Linked DNA regions of Homo sapiens: all the other regions are linked to region 1. The links are contacts of gene promoters, found by promoter capture Hi-C in human tissues and cell types (Jung and others, 2019). All regions are on one chromosome and are shown on one strand. Each heading gives the region's core, a stretch centred on a gene start or on the middle of the fragment in contact. The rest is flanking DNA. Distances are from core to core; before and after follow the strand shown.

What was found. Contacts are between HindIII fragments. The study calls those that stand out against the background at their distance.
Region 2: a contact is called between a fragment that was not itself captured here and the fragment with the promoter of KCNJ1 in region 1, in 1 of the 25 tissues and cell types used here (lymphoblastoid cells).
Region 3: a fragment that was not itself captured here is called in contact with the fragment with the promoter of KCNJ1 in region 1 in 1 of the 25 tissues and cell types used here (heart left ventricle).
Region 4: a contact is called between a fragment that was not itself captured here and the fragment with the promoter of KCNJ1 in region 1, in 1 of the 25 tissues and cell types used here (spleen).

The regions. Positions count from the first base shown.
Region 1 is chr11:128,865,963-128,868,777 of GRCh38, reverse strand. It overlaps KCNJ1 (potassium inwardly rectifying channel subfamily J member 1), which reads left to right and starts at 1,482. Exons shown (of 3, transcript NM_153766.3): 1 at 1,482-1,605. It overlaps LOC107984409 (a long non-coding RNA gene), which reads right to left. Exons shown (of 3, transcript XR_001748442.2): 3 at 1,599-2,028. The HindIII fragment of the contact is 8,499 bases long and covers 1-2,815 here.
Region 2 is chr11:128,250,918-128,253,732 of GRCh38, reverse strand. No RefSeq gene overlaps it. Among named protein-coding and RNA genes, the nearest start is that of LINC02098, 44 kb to the right of the region's middle. The HindIII fragment of the contact is 3,615 bases long and covers 1-2,815 here.
Region 3 is chr11:128,269,369-128,272,183 of GRCh38, reverse strand. No RefSeq gene overlaps it. Among named protein-coding and RNA genes, the nearest start is that of LINC02098, 62 kb to the right of the region's middle. The HindIII fragment of the contact is 3,763 bases long and covers 1-2,815 here.
Region 4 is chr11:128,300,392-128,303,206 of GRCh38, reverse strand. LOC124902787 (a long non-coding RNA gene) reads left to right here. Exons shown (of 2, transcript XR_007062946.1): 2 at 1-880. Among named protein-coding and RNA genes, the nearest start is that of LINC02098, 93 kb to the right of the region's middle. RefSeq lists a silencer at 479-568. The HindIII fragment of the contact is 4,008 bases long and covers 1-2,815 here.

The DNA of each region.
Region 1 (2,815 bases), core at 233-2,732:
GCAAGAAAACAAGCTCAGGGCTCCCACTGATTCGACATTATGGTGGTGTTGTATAATTATTTCATTATATATTAGAATATAATACATAATATATATTATATGATATATTAGAATATAATACGTAATATATGTTATATAATATTTAGAATATAATATGTAATATATGTTATATAATATTTAGAATATAATACGTAATATATGTTATATAATATATTAGAATATAATACGTAATATATGTTATATAATATATTAGAATATAATACGTAATATATGTTATATAATATATTAGAATATAATACGTAATATATGTTATATAATATATTAGAATATAATACGTAATATATATTATATAACATATTAGAATATAATACGTAATATATGTTATATAATATATTAGAATATAATACATAATATATATTATATTATATATTAGAATATAATACAGAATATATATTATATATTAGAATATAATACATAATATATATTATATATTAGAATATAATACAGAATATATATTATATATTAGAATATAATACAGAATATATGTTATATAATATATTAGAATATAATACAGAATATATGTTATATAATATATTAGAATATAATACAGAATATATGTTATAGAGTATATTAGAATATAATACATAATATATGTTATATAATATATTAGAATATAATACATAATATATATTATATTATATATTAGAATATAATACATAATGAAATAAGGAATATAATAGAATATTATTTCATAGAATAGAATAGAATATTATTTCCTTCTATAATAGAATAGAATATTTCATTATTTCATCCCATATTCATTATTTCATTCTATAATATTATAGAATAGAATAGAATATTATATAATGTAATAGAATATTATTTCATTATATATTAGAATATAATATATAATGAAATAAGGAATATAATAGAATATAATAGAAGTAAAGTAATTATTATAAGTAAACACAGTAGAAACAAAGTTCACAATAAATGTCATGTGTTTGAATCATCTCGAAACCATCCTCCCCCACCACCTCCCTGGTCCATGGAAAAAATGTCTCCCATGAAACTGGTCCCTGGTGCCAAAAAGGTTGGGGACTGCTGTTCTAGGGCCACTGAGTGATTCACAGGACAGGAGACATTTGTGAGGGGCTCCTTGGGGACCCCTACTTCCCTGCCCTGTAACATCCAGCCTCATGTGCGCACGTGTTCAACTTCATGCCTTTGACTTAGACACATCGACATGAGCATACCGGCCTTCTGGTTCCAAGCCAGGGTTCCATAAACAAATCCTTCTTAGTTAGCCTTGGTAGCTCAACACCTTTGGTATCTCACTCACTTAACTGCCACGCCTACTCTTGTTGGATCCGGTTATAAAGTAAACTATGTTCTTTGAGAACTGTTGCATACAGATGAGTTGGCAGCCGGTCTGAGCTGGCCCACAGACTCATAAAATCAACAGGGCCTCGGGTACCCTCACCTAGCATATCCAAACTCTTGCATCAAAGGTGCAGGGACTTGCTCACATCGAGAATCTGGTTGCTTTCTTGGAGACCAAGAAAATGAGTTTTTGTTTCTACATTTACTCCAGCAATCCATGAGGTAAGAGGAGAAACACCTCATTGTCTCTTTGTAGGAAAAAGAAGTTAATTCTTGTGAAAATTTAGACCTCTTTTCCCCGCCTCAAATCTAGGCAGACTTGTCTGTCCACTCCTGGGGGATAGATAGAAGCATGGTTTTAACTCACTCACTGGATGCTTTTGGTGTGCTGGTTACATGTGGATTATTAGCTGTGTGCTGCATCTTGCCTTCCCTGGGTCACTCCGCAGCCCTGGGGCTGGAGGGCAGTAAGAATCTTTGGTTGCATCATGCCTGATTCCAAAGTCTTCTTTTGGTGGCAGAGATGTATGTAGGGTTTTCATCTCTGGTGGCATCCTTTCAATTGTAGCAAGACCTTGCCTAGTAACACAACCTCTGCCAAGCCGTTTCCATCTTTAAGGTAGAGGATCAAGGTGCTAGTGGGGTCTATTATGGAAAACATATATCAGGAAAAGGCAAGAGTTAGCCAGACATTTTGATTACCTTCACCCAAATGTCTTTCTTTCATTTTCTGATGTAGGACTTTATAGGAATTTTGCACCATTCTGAATGGATACATTTGGATTTCTCAACATTTGTTCAGCTTCCTAATGACTGTTGTGACAATTGCTCTATACCAGTGAATGCCAACTGTTTATCTCTGCTCTGAACAGGTATGGAGCCCCTTCTCCCAATATCTGTATCTTACAGATTTGGTGCATAGACGCTTAAAAGGAGTTGGTCTTTCGCAACCAGCAATCTTTAGGAAAAATGATTGAATTTTTCTCCTTTTAGCTGGGCTTACAAAATGGAGCAAAACATAGTGATTGTGCTATGGACCTTTTATGGACAGGGACTTGGCAGAGCCACTCACTGGATGCTTTTGATCTGCTGGTTGTACCTGGATTATTAGTTGCGAGCTGCACGCTGCCTTCCCTGGGCCATTCCGTAGCCCTGGGGCTGGAGGGCAGTTAGAATCTTTGGTTGAATCTTCGGTTACATTGGAGGAGCTGCCCAGTCTTTGTGGGCTCCCTTCAGTCATGGGCTTGGCTTGTGTTGTCTTACTCTACACTGTTTAGTGTAAATGGATTCTCACTAAGTCAGCTTCAGCTTTTAAGAGCATGATGGGGTGGAGATATCTGGGAACGTATGGGCCATCAGAAAAGCATTTTTTTATACTCAAGTCATGAAGGTGGATTTCTTCTGTGTAAGGAGGTGCACCAAGTCAGTGTAG
Region 2 (2,815 bases), core at 183-2,682, 610 kb after region 1:
TGAAATAATTTACATATCCACCAATAGTGTATACATGCTCCCTTTTCTCTGCATCTTTGCCAACATCTGTTATTTTTTGTCTCTTTAATAATAATCATTCTGAGTTAGGATGATATCTCATTGTGGTTTTGATTAGCATTTTGCTGATGATTAGCAATGTTGAACATTTTTCATATACCTGTTGGACATCTATGTCTTCTTTTTAAAAATGTCTATTCATGCCCTTTGCCCACTTTTTAATAAAATTGTTTCTGGTTTTTGTTTGTTTGTTTTTGAGTTGTTTGAATTCCTTGTAAATTCTGGATATTAGTCCCCAGTCAGATGCATAGTTTACAAATATTTTATTTTGTTGTGTAGGTTGCCTATTCAGCTTGTTAATTATTACTTTTGCTATGCAGAAGCTTTCTAATTAATTAAATCCTATTTGTTTATTTTTGTTTTTGTTGCCTGTGTGTTTGAAGTCCTAGTCATGAATTCTTTGCCTAGACCAACCTTGTTCAACCTGTAGCCCATGAGCCACATGCAGCCCAGGTCGGCTTTGAATGTGACCCAACACAAATTCTTAAACTTTCTTAAAACATTATTATTTATTAGTGACTTTTATGAGCTCATCAGCTGTTGTTAGTGTTATTACATTTTACGTGTGGCCCAAGACAATTCTTCTTCTCCAGTGTGACCCAGGAAAGCCAAAAGATTGTACACCCCTGGCTTACACCAATGTCCAAAGTATTTTTTCCTAGGTTTTCTTTTAGTATTATTGTAGTTTCAGTTCTTACATTTAAGTCTTTTATCCATCTTGAGTTGATTATTGTATATAGTGAGAGATAGGGGTCCAGTTTCGTTCTTCTGTATATGGATATCCAATTTTCCAATTTTCCCAGAATTATTTATTGAGAAGGGTATCCTCTCCCTACTGTATGTTCTTGTCAACTTTGTCAAAGATCAGTTGGCTATAGAGATATGGCTTAATTTCTGGTTTCTCTGTTTGGTTTCATTGATTTATGTGTCCAATTTTACACCAGTGCCATACATCGCCCTGTATTATAATTTGAAGTCAGGTAATGTGATACCTTCAGCTTTGTTCTTTTGCTTAGGATTTCATTGGGTATTTGGGCTCTTTTTTGGTTTCATGTGAATTTTAGGATTGTTTTTTCTAATTCTGTAAAAAAATAACGTTGGTATTTTGATAAGGATTGCATTGAATCTATAGATTGCTTTGAGCAGTCTGGTCATTTGAATAATTTATGAACATGGAGTGCTTTCTATTTTTTGTGCCATGTACAATTTCTTCCATCAAAGGTCTTTCACTTCCTTAATTAAATATATTCCTAGGTATTTTATTTTATTTTGTTTTGTTTTTGTAGCTATTGTAAATGATATTGCCTCTTGATTTGCTTCTCAGCTTGATCATTTTTGGTGTGCAGAAACGCTACTGAGTTTTGTCAGTTTATTTTGTATCCTGTGAATTCAATACATTCACTTATCAAATCTAAGAGGTGTGTGTGTGTGTGTGTGTGTGTGTGTGTGTGTGTGGAGTCTTTCCAGGGAAGGGCAAGTACAAAAGCTCTGAGGTGGGAACACAGATGGAAGACCAGAGGAACAGCGAGGAGTCAAGAGCAGCTGAAGCGGATGCAAAGGGAAAAGTAGGACAGGAGGCACTGAGCAAGTTTCGGGGCCATTCCTCTGGGGAGGCAGGAAGCATGAGGGATTTGAACAGTAACAGTTTAATATATACAAATAGGGGATTAACAGGAGACTGGAGTGACAAGGGATTGACTAGTACAGGGAAAAGAGAGGCTAAAGAACACAGAAATAGTAGCTCCAGGGAGAAGCTACTGCCTATAGGACTGAGGCAGTGTACCTGTATTAGTTCATTTTCATGTTGCTGATAAAGACATACCCAAGACTGGGCAATTTACAAAAGAAAGAAGTTTAATGGACTTACAGCTCCAAGTGGCTGGGGAGGCCTCACAATCATGGCAGAAGGTGAAAGGCGCATCACACATGGCAGCAGACAAGAGAAGAGAGCTTGTATGGGCAGACTCCTCTTTAAAAAAACCATTGGATCTTGTGAAACTTATTCACTATCATGAGAACAGCATGGTAAAGACCTGCCCCCATGATTCAGTTAATTCCCGCTGGGTACCTTCCACAAGTGGGAATTATGGGAGCTATAATTCAAGATGAGATTTGGGTGGGGACACAGCCAAACAATATCAATACCCAAGGGAGGAACAAACCTGGAGAGGGGCCTTCCTCGTAGGGCTGAGAGCTAGACCTTGTGGATTTGCAGGATTTCTAGTGTTTCTAGATGCTCCTCTGTCTAATACATTTCTATGGTCAATGTAAAAATGCAGTCCTCTACAGCAGGATTTAAATAGCAGGCCCTGACCTGATTTGCCTGCATTCCAAATTGCAGATTCATAGTTTACTCCTTTCATTTCTTAAGCGTCTTGCACAAGATAGTTAAATTCTCTGTACTTCTGTTACCTTATCTATAAATAGGGATAATAATATTAAATCACACAGAATAACTGTTGTGATAATTTATAAATTAATCTCTACAAAGTACTCAGAAGGATGCCTGGTGCCTAATCAGCGTTCATTCAGTGTTACTCTTATGAACATTATTGGACAGATTTCACATAATTTCTATGCCTCACAAAAATGAACAGATTTTTATGGTCATGATGATTAATTAGTTACGATAAATCTTTTGAGAAAAAATACCCTCCCCATTATGTTTCGATGCAGGGACAAGTTCAAGTTAACGCAGAGTTGATTGAAAACAGTCACTCCCTCCTCCAACCAATTA
Region 3 (2,815 bases), core at 147-2,646, 600 kb after region 1:
CTTCTCTACTTTTAAATATATTCTGGCCATTTTTCCATTTTAATTCATGTAGTTCTATCTCATGGTTAATAGCTTTACAATGGTTCCATAGGACATTTGTATCATGGATTCAATACACATCTTTATCTAGCCCCTATTCATGGAATCTGTTTTCTTCTAATTTTTCCCAATCATTAAACATATTTTAATGAATGCCCTTTCAGGGATCTTCACTGACTGAAGTAGGTATAGAGTAACCATAAAATTGGCAGAAAGCAGCAGTAGTCAAAAGCAATGATATTTTCAATCCCTTTCCAGTGAGAATTGAAATACAAACAAAAGTCTGAAGAACATTTGAGTGACTTGTTCTACAAACAAACTTTATGTTCAGATTTCAAAATGGGATAAACTTTGTAGATGGGAGAGAAATCAGACAGTTCTCTTCTCTACTACAAAAATAAGACAATTTCAGCTGAGAAGAAAAAAACAGAAGTAATGAATTGCTAAGCAACAGAGATCCTGTTTACATGCAAATATTGGTAGTAATAACAAAAAAAACAGGGTGCAGGAATAACACAGGAAATATGATCTGAAAGCAAAATTGCATATAATAAAATATTTGGGTCTTGTTTTGGAGTTTGGTTTTCCACAACAAGTCAACAGCTATTTATGTTGACACCATCTGAATTAACTGGCCTCAAAGCTAACCTGACATTTTGCGATCTGCCATCTGTCTAGGAAGGAAGTTTATTCTGACAAAGACAAAGACTAAAAGGTGTTTGTGCATCAGCTTATCTCTTCTAAGGACCTTAATAAGAAGGTCAACTTTGTGGTGCTTCAAACTTTTCTTACTAGCAAGATCTGAGGCATGTTGGAGCATAAATATTTCTACTAGGATATGAGCCCTTTAAACTATAGTGGTTTATTCTTTTTACTAGGATGGATTTTTAACCTTCCAGTGGAATGTATAAAGGCTAAGTCACTTTTCCTAAGCAAAGTTTTAAGATGATTTTTAGAACAGGTTTAGGTTTACAGCAAAATTGAGAGAAAGGCACAGAGATATCCCATATACTCCTGCCCCCATATACACACAGTCTCCCTACTATGCTGTAGCCATATTTACAGCAACTTTTCCGGAAATGTAGGATTAGAAGTTAGGCTTTCTGTATTTTTTCCTTTAATTTGTTTTTAGATTTTTTTAATATGTGAAGACATTGCTTTTCTTCTGTTAGATATGTTAGGTTTGTGATTATAGAATTTTTTAGACTAAAAATCAATTTCTTCAGAATTTTGAAGGCCTTGTTCTAATACCTTTTAGCTTCCAGTAACACTATTAAGAAATATAATTAAATTTTTATTTATGATTCTCACATTGTGTTTTTGTTCTTTATTTCCTCTTTCTGTAAGATGTTAGAACTTCTCTTTATCTCTGGTGTACGCAGATCTCATGATGAGGTATACATTTGTTTGGGTATTATTTTTTAAAAATTCATTTAATGAGTACTTGGTGTTCTCTTTCAATTAAGTTACAAGTGTTCTTCAATTATTTTGAAAACTTCATTAAGAAAGAAGAAAGACCTCAATAATCTAACCTTTCATATTAATACACTAAACATAGAAGAGCACACTAATCAGAATGCAAACAGAAAGAAGAAAATAATAAAGATTACAGCAGAAATTAATGAAAAAGAAAACAGGAGAACAATAGAGAAATTTAGTGGCACCAAGGAATGGTTTTTGAAAAGCTCAATAAAATTAACAAAACGTTAGCTAGATTGACCAAGAAGAGAGACAGAGAGAGAGAAGACACAAATTACTAGAACTAGCAATGAAAGGAGACAAACTACTAAGCTTAGAAACACAAAAAGAATTATGAAGAAATACTAAGAACTCTTGTACACCACATGTTAAATAAATTAGATTAGCAGTCCCTAACCTTTTTGGCATCAGGGACTGGTTTCATGGAAGACAATTTTTCCACAGATTGGGGGTGGGGTATGGTTTTGGGATGAAACTGTTCCACCTCAGACCATCAGGCATTAGTTAGATTCTCATAAGAAGCATGCAACCTAGATCCCTCCCATGCACAGTTCACATTAGGGATCCACTCCTGTGAGAATCTAATGCCACCGCTGATCTGACAGGAGAGGAGCTCAGGCAGTAATGCTCCCTTGCCCTCCACTCATCTCCTGCTGTGTGGTCCAGGGTTGGGAACCCCTGAATTAGATAAAATGGACACATTCCTTGGAAGTTATGGACCACCAAAATTGACTTGTGGAGAAATCACAATCTGAATAAACCTATAATAAGTGAAGAGATTAAAGTATTAAAAACAAAACTATCCACAACATAAAGCCCTGACCCAGATAGATTGACCATTAAATTCTACCCAAAATTTAAAAAATAGAATTCATACCAGTTCTGTTTTCAAAAATTAGCAGAGAGAACACTTCCCAACTCATTCTATTAATCAAAACCAAAGATATCACAAGAAAACTACAGAACAATGACTCATGAATATAGAGTCACACAACCTCAGCAAAATACTCACAAACTGAATCCAGTGTCATATAAAAAGAATTACACATGTGACCAAGTGGGATTTAGTCTTAACATCTGAAAATAATTAATGTGATACATATTATCAATATTTTAAAATCACATAATCATTTTAATAGACGCAAAAAAAGTTGACAAAATTCAAAACTCTTTCCTAATAAAAACAATAAATAAGAATAGAAGGACTCAATCTGATAAAGGCTATCTACGAGAAACCCACAGCTAACATCATATCTAACACTGGAAGACTGAACAATTTACCTCTAATATCAGGAAC
Region 4 (2,815 bases), core at 128-2,627, 570 kb after region 1:
ATCTGACCCATGTACTTTCAATACCTTTACTGGTCATTAGCTCTATACCAGTAAGGCCAAATATATGGTGGTGGGTGATAGTATCAGCTCCCTCAACTCTGCAACCCACTGGAGCTTACCAAATGAGAACTGGTTTTCTTCATGCAATTTACCTCAAAAGCCACACCATCAGCAAGAGGACCAGAACTAATTGTCAAAGTGCAAGCCACAACGAACACACAATTGTCACTTAAAACCAGTTTTTGCTTCAGTAAGCTTTTTTTTTCTATCTAGTATTTTATCTCTTAAAATAAAGAGAAAAAACAGGTAAGAAACTAGTTTACCAATAACTTTGACAAATAGCCCCTGAGGTAGAGGGAGTGACATTTGGAAAGTTGGTAAAAGCCACCAGAGTCAAAGCAACCTAAACAAAAAAAAAAAAGAAAAAAAAAAAAAAACTTGTGGCTATGCTACACTCAACCAGGCCACACCTGTTTTCAGAAACCACTGAGTGTTCTGCAGATACGCAGAGATGCCAGGTCTGACAGTCTCTAAGGCAACCAGATACCGATCATTGTCACACAGTAAGAAATAGGAAGAGACACTGGTAACAAACATTAAGCCTGGTTTTCTCATCTGCTCAACAGTGTAACGGTAGGTGGAGTCAGCTCTGCCTTGAGACTCTTCACTTGTCCAGTCTCAAACTCTAAACACCTACTGGAGTGCAGGGCATCCTGCAGCTGGATAAGTAACTGAAGATCTGAAGCCCACCTCTTAAGCGTAATCCCGCAATCGAATGTGGACTTTGAAATGGGCTTTTGAGGAGAAAAGGACAAGCTGCAGTTTCCCCCGTCTTCTAATTTCCTCATCTGCGAAATAAAACAGAGTGTTTATATGTCCAGAGAGTGGTGAGCCAGTGAACTGGGATGACACAAAGAGATAACTTATCTAATTTGGTTCCCAAACGGGTGGGTTGGATTTTAGTTAATAAGTCACCATCATAGGAAAATATAAGCAGGTCCCTGCTTTCTGAGCATTTATGTCTATTGAAGATGTACAGTATCATGCTTTCCCTTTCTGAGACATTTCCAATCTGTAATATGTCAATAAGAATAAAGCAAATGGGCATTTTGTAAGAAGTTGGCAGAGGTGCAGAATGCATTTAGGAATTGGAATGAGTGCTTGTCTACTGCTTTTCAAATCATTGCATTGGGATTACTTATGCCTGTGTTTTTCTTGCTCCCTAGACTGAGCTCCTTGACATCAGGGGCTCATTTTTGTTTATTGGTGTCGTTCCCACTCTTCCTGGTGTCATGTTTTGCACCTGTGGATAGTCAAGTAATAGTTGAATAGTTGTTCAGTTGAATCATTCTGTTGCTTTTAGGAGGTGCAGTTTGAAGACACTGCAGCTAGACTGAAATCACATAGCCCAGGAAATGGGAAAACATACCGTGAAGATGGGCTAATTAATGATTTATTGTACCTTGAAAAAATTTAAAAAAGTATAAATATTAATGAAAGTATTGGTTTTTAAAGCTTAATGATGATCAGCAGCAGAAGATAAAACTTAAATGATACAACTGGCCAGATGGCAACCATCTTTATTAAAAGGCCTGGTCAGAATAAGAATCATTACATAGAATTGAATATGGGACAGAATGTTGAGAATCAATTATAGTAGTAAATATAACCAGCTTTATAGCAACACCAAGAATTACAGTGAAGTGCAAGTACTGCGAAATAAAATTTAAAATATTGATTTTCAAGGATTTATTTTACATTTTATAGTCAAAATTTAATGCAAAACAAAAAAGAGCCTGAAAATCATACAGTCTTACAACCAAGAAAAAACTGTCTTGGTATGCTTTGTATGAATCTTTTGAGTTTGTCCTTCTCTACACGTATCACAACACATATCACACAAATATACACACATGTATTTTTGTTTTTATAAACTGGGCTAACATATTGTTGCTTTGCAAGTTGCTATTTCACTCAACAGTGCAGTATGGCCATGTTTCTATGTTATTTAACTATTCTCTATTTTTCACAGCTATATATTATTTTATTGTATTTATTTATATACATATTATGTATTAATGGACATTTAGGTTGACTCCAAGGTTTTTGTGTGCTGTTTTCTCACGTATGCTTGTTGTTAAGGCTTTTCATAATGTCTTTGGGGAAAGTTCATGGCAATTTTTTTCTGCTAGCAGTATACAGATGGGACTTTTATCTCCTTTTAATTTCAAAGGAAATGTGGCTACAGATGAAAAATGACATGACACACACCTTCCTAATAGTTTAAGAACACTTGCTCTTAAAAAAAATAAGAAAAATGTAGGGGAAGTGATCTACTCCTCAGAGCTGTCTATATTGATTAGATCTCCAAAGTTGACTAACACTACAACATTTTTTTTAAAAAACATACGATTTAGAATCAGGTTAGAATAATATTATCCTAGGATATATTTTACCTCATCAAGAGTTACATGAACTTTATCACTTAAGAGAAAGTAAGTTATCAAAAGTATGTATTTTTATTTTTTTAAAAAGAGACCACAGAAAAGCTGGGTGAAAACATCAAAATTGTGACTTCTTCTTTATAAGTGGACCCTCTAACTGGCATTTTACCTGCTGTTATCTTTCTCCAAATGCTTCCTAGAAGCATTTTGCTCAAGTTCCATACCTGGGAGGCTTCCAGCTACCATCACAAAATTGTTCTTTTCCTTCATTCCTATGAAAGCAAGAGGATGGTTCAGTGGGTACAAACACAAAATTAGTGAGGGCAAAGCTGCCTCATTTGGGTTATTTAGTTTTGAATACAAGAAAATAA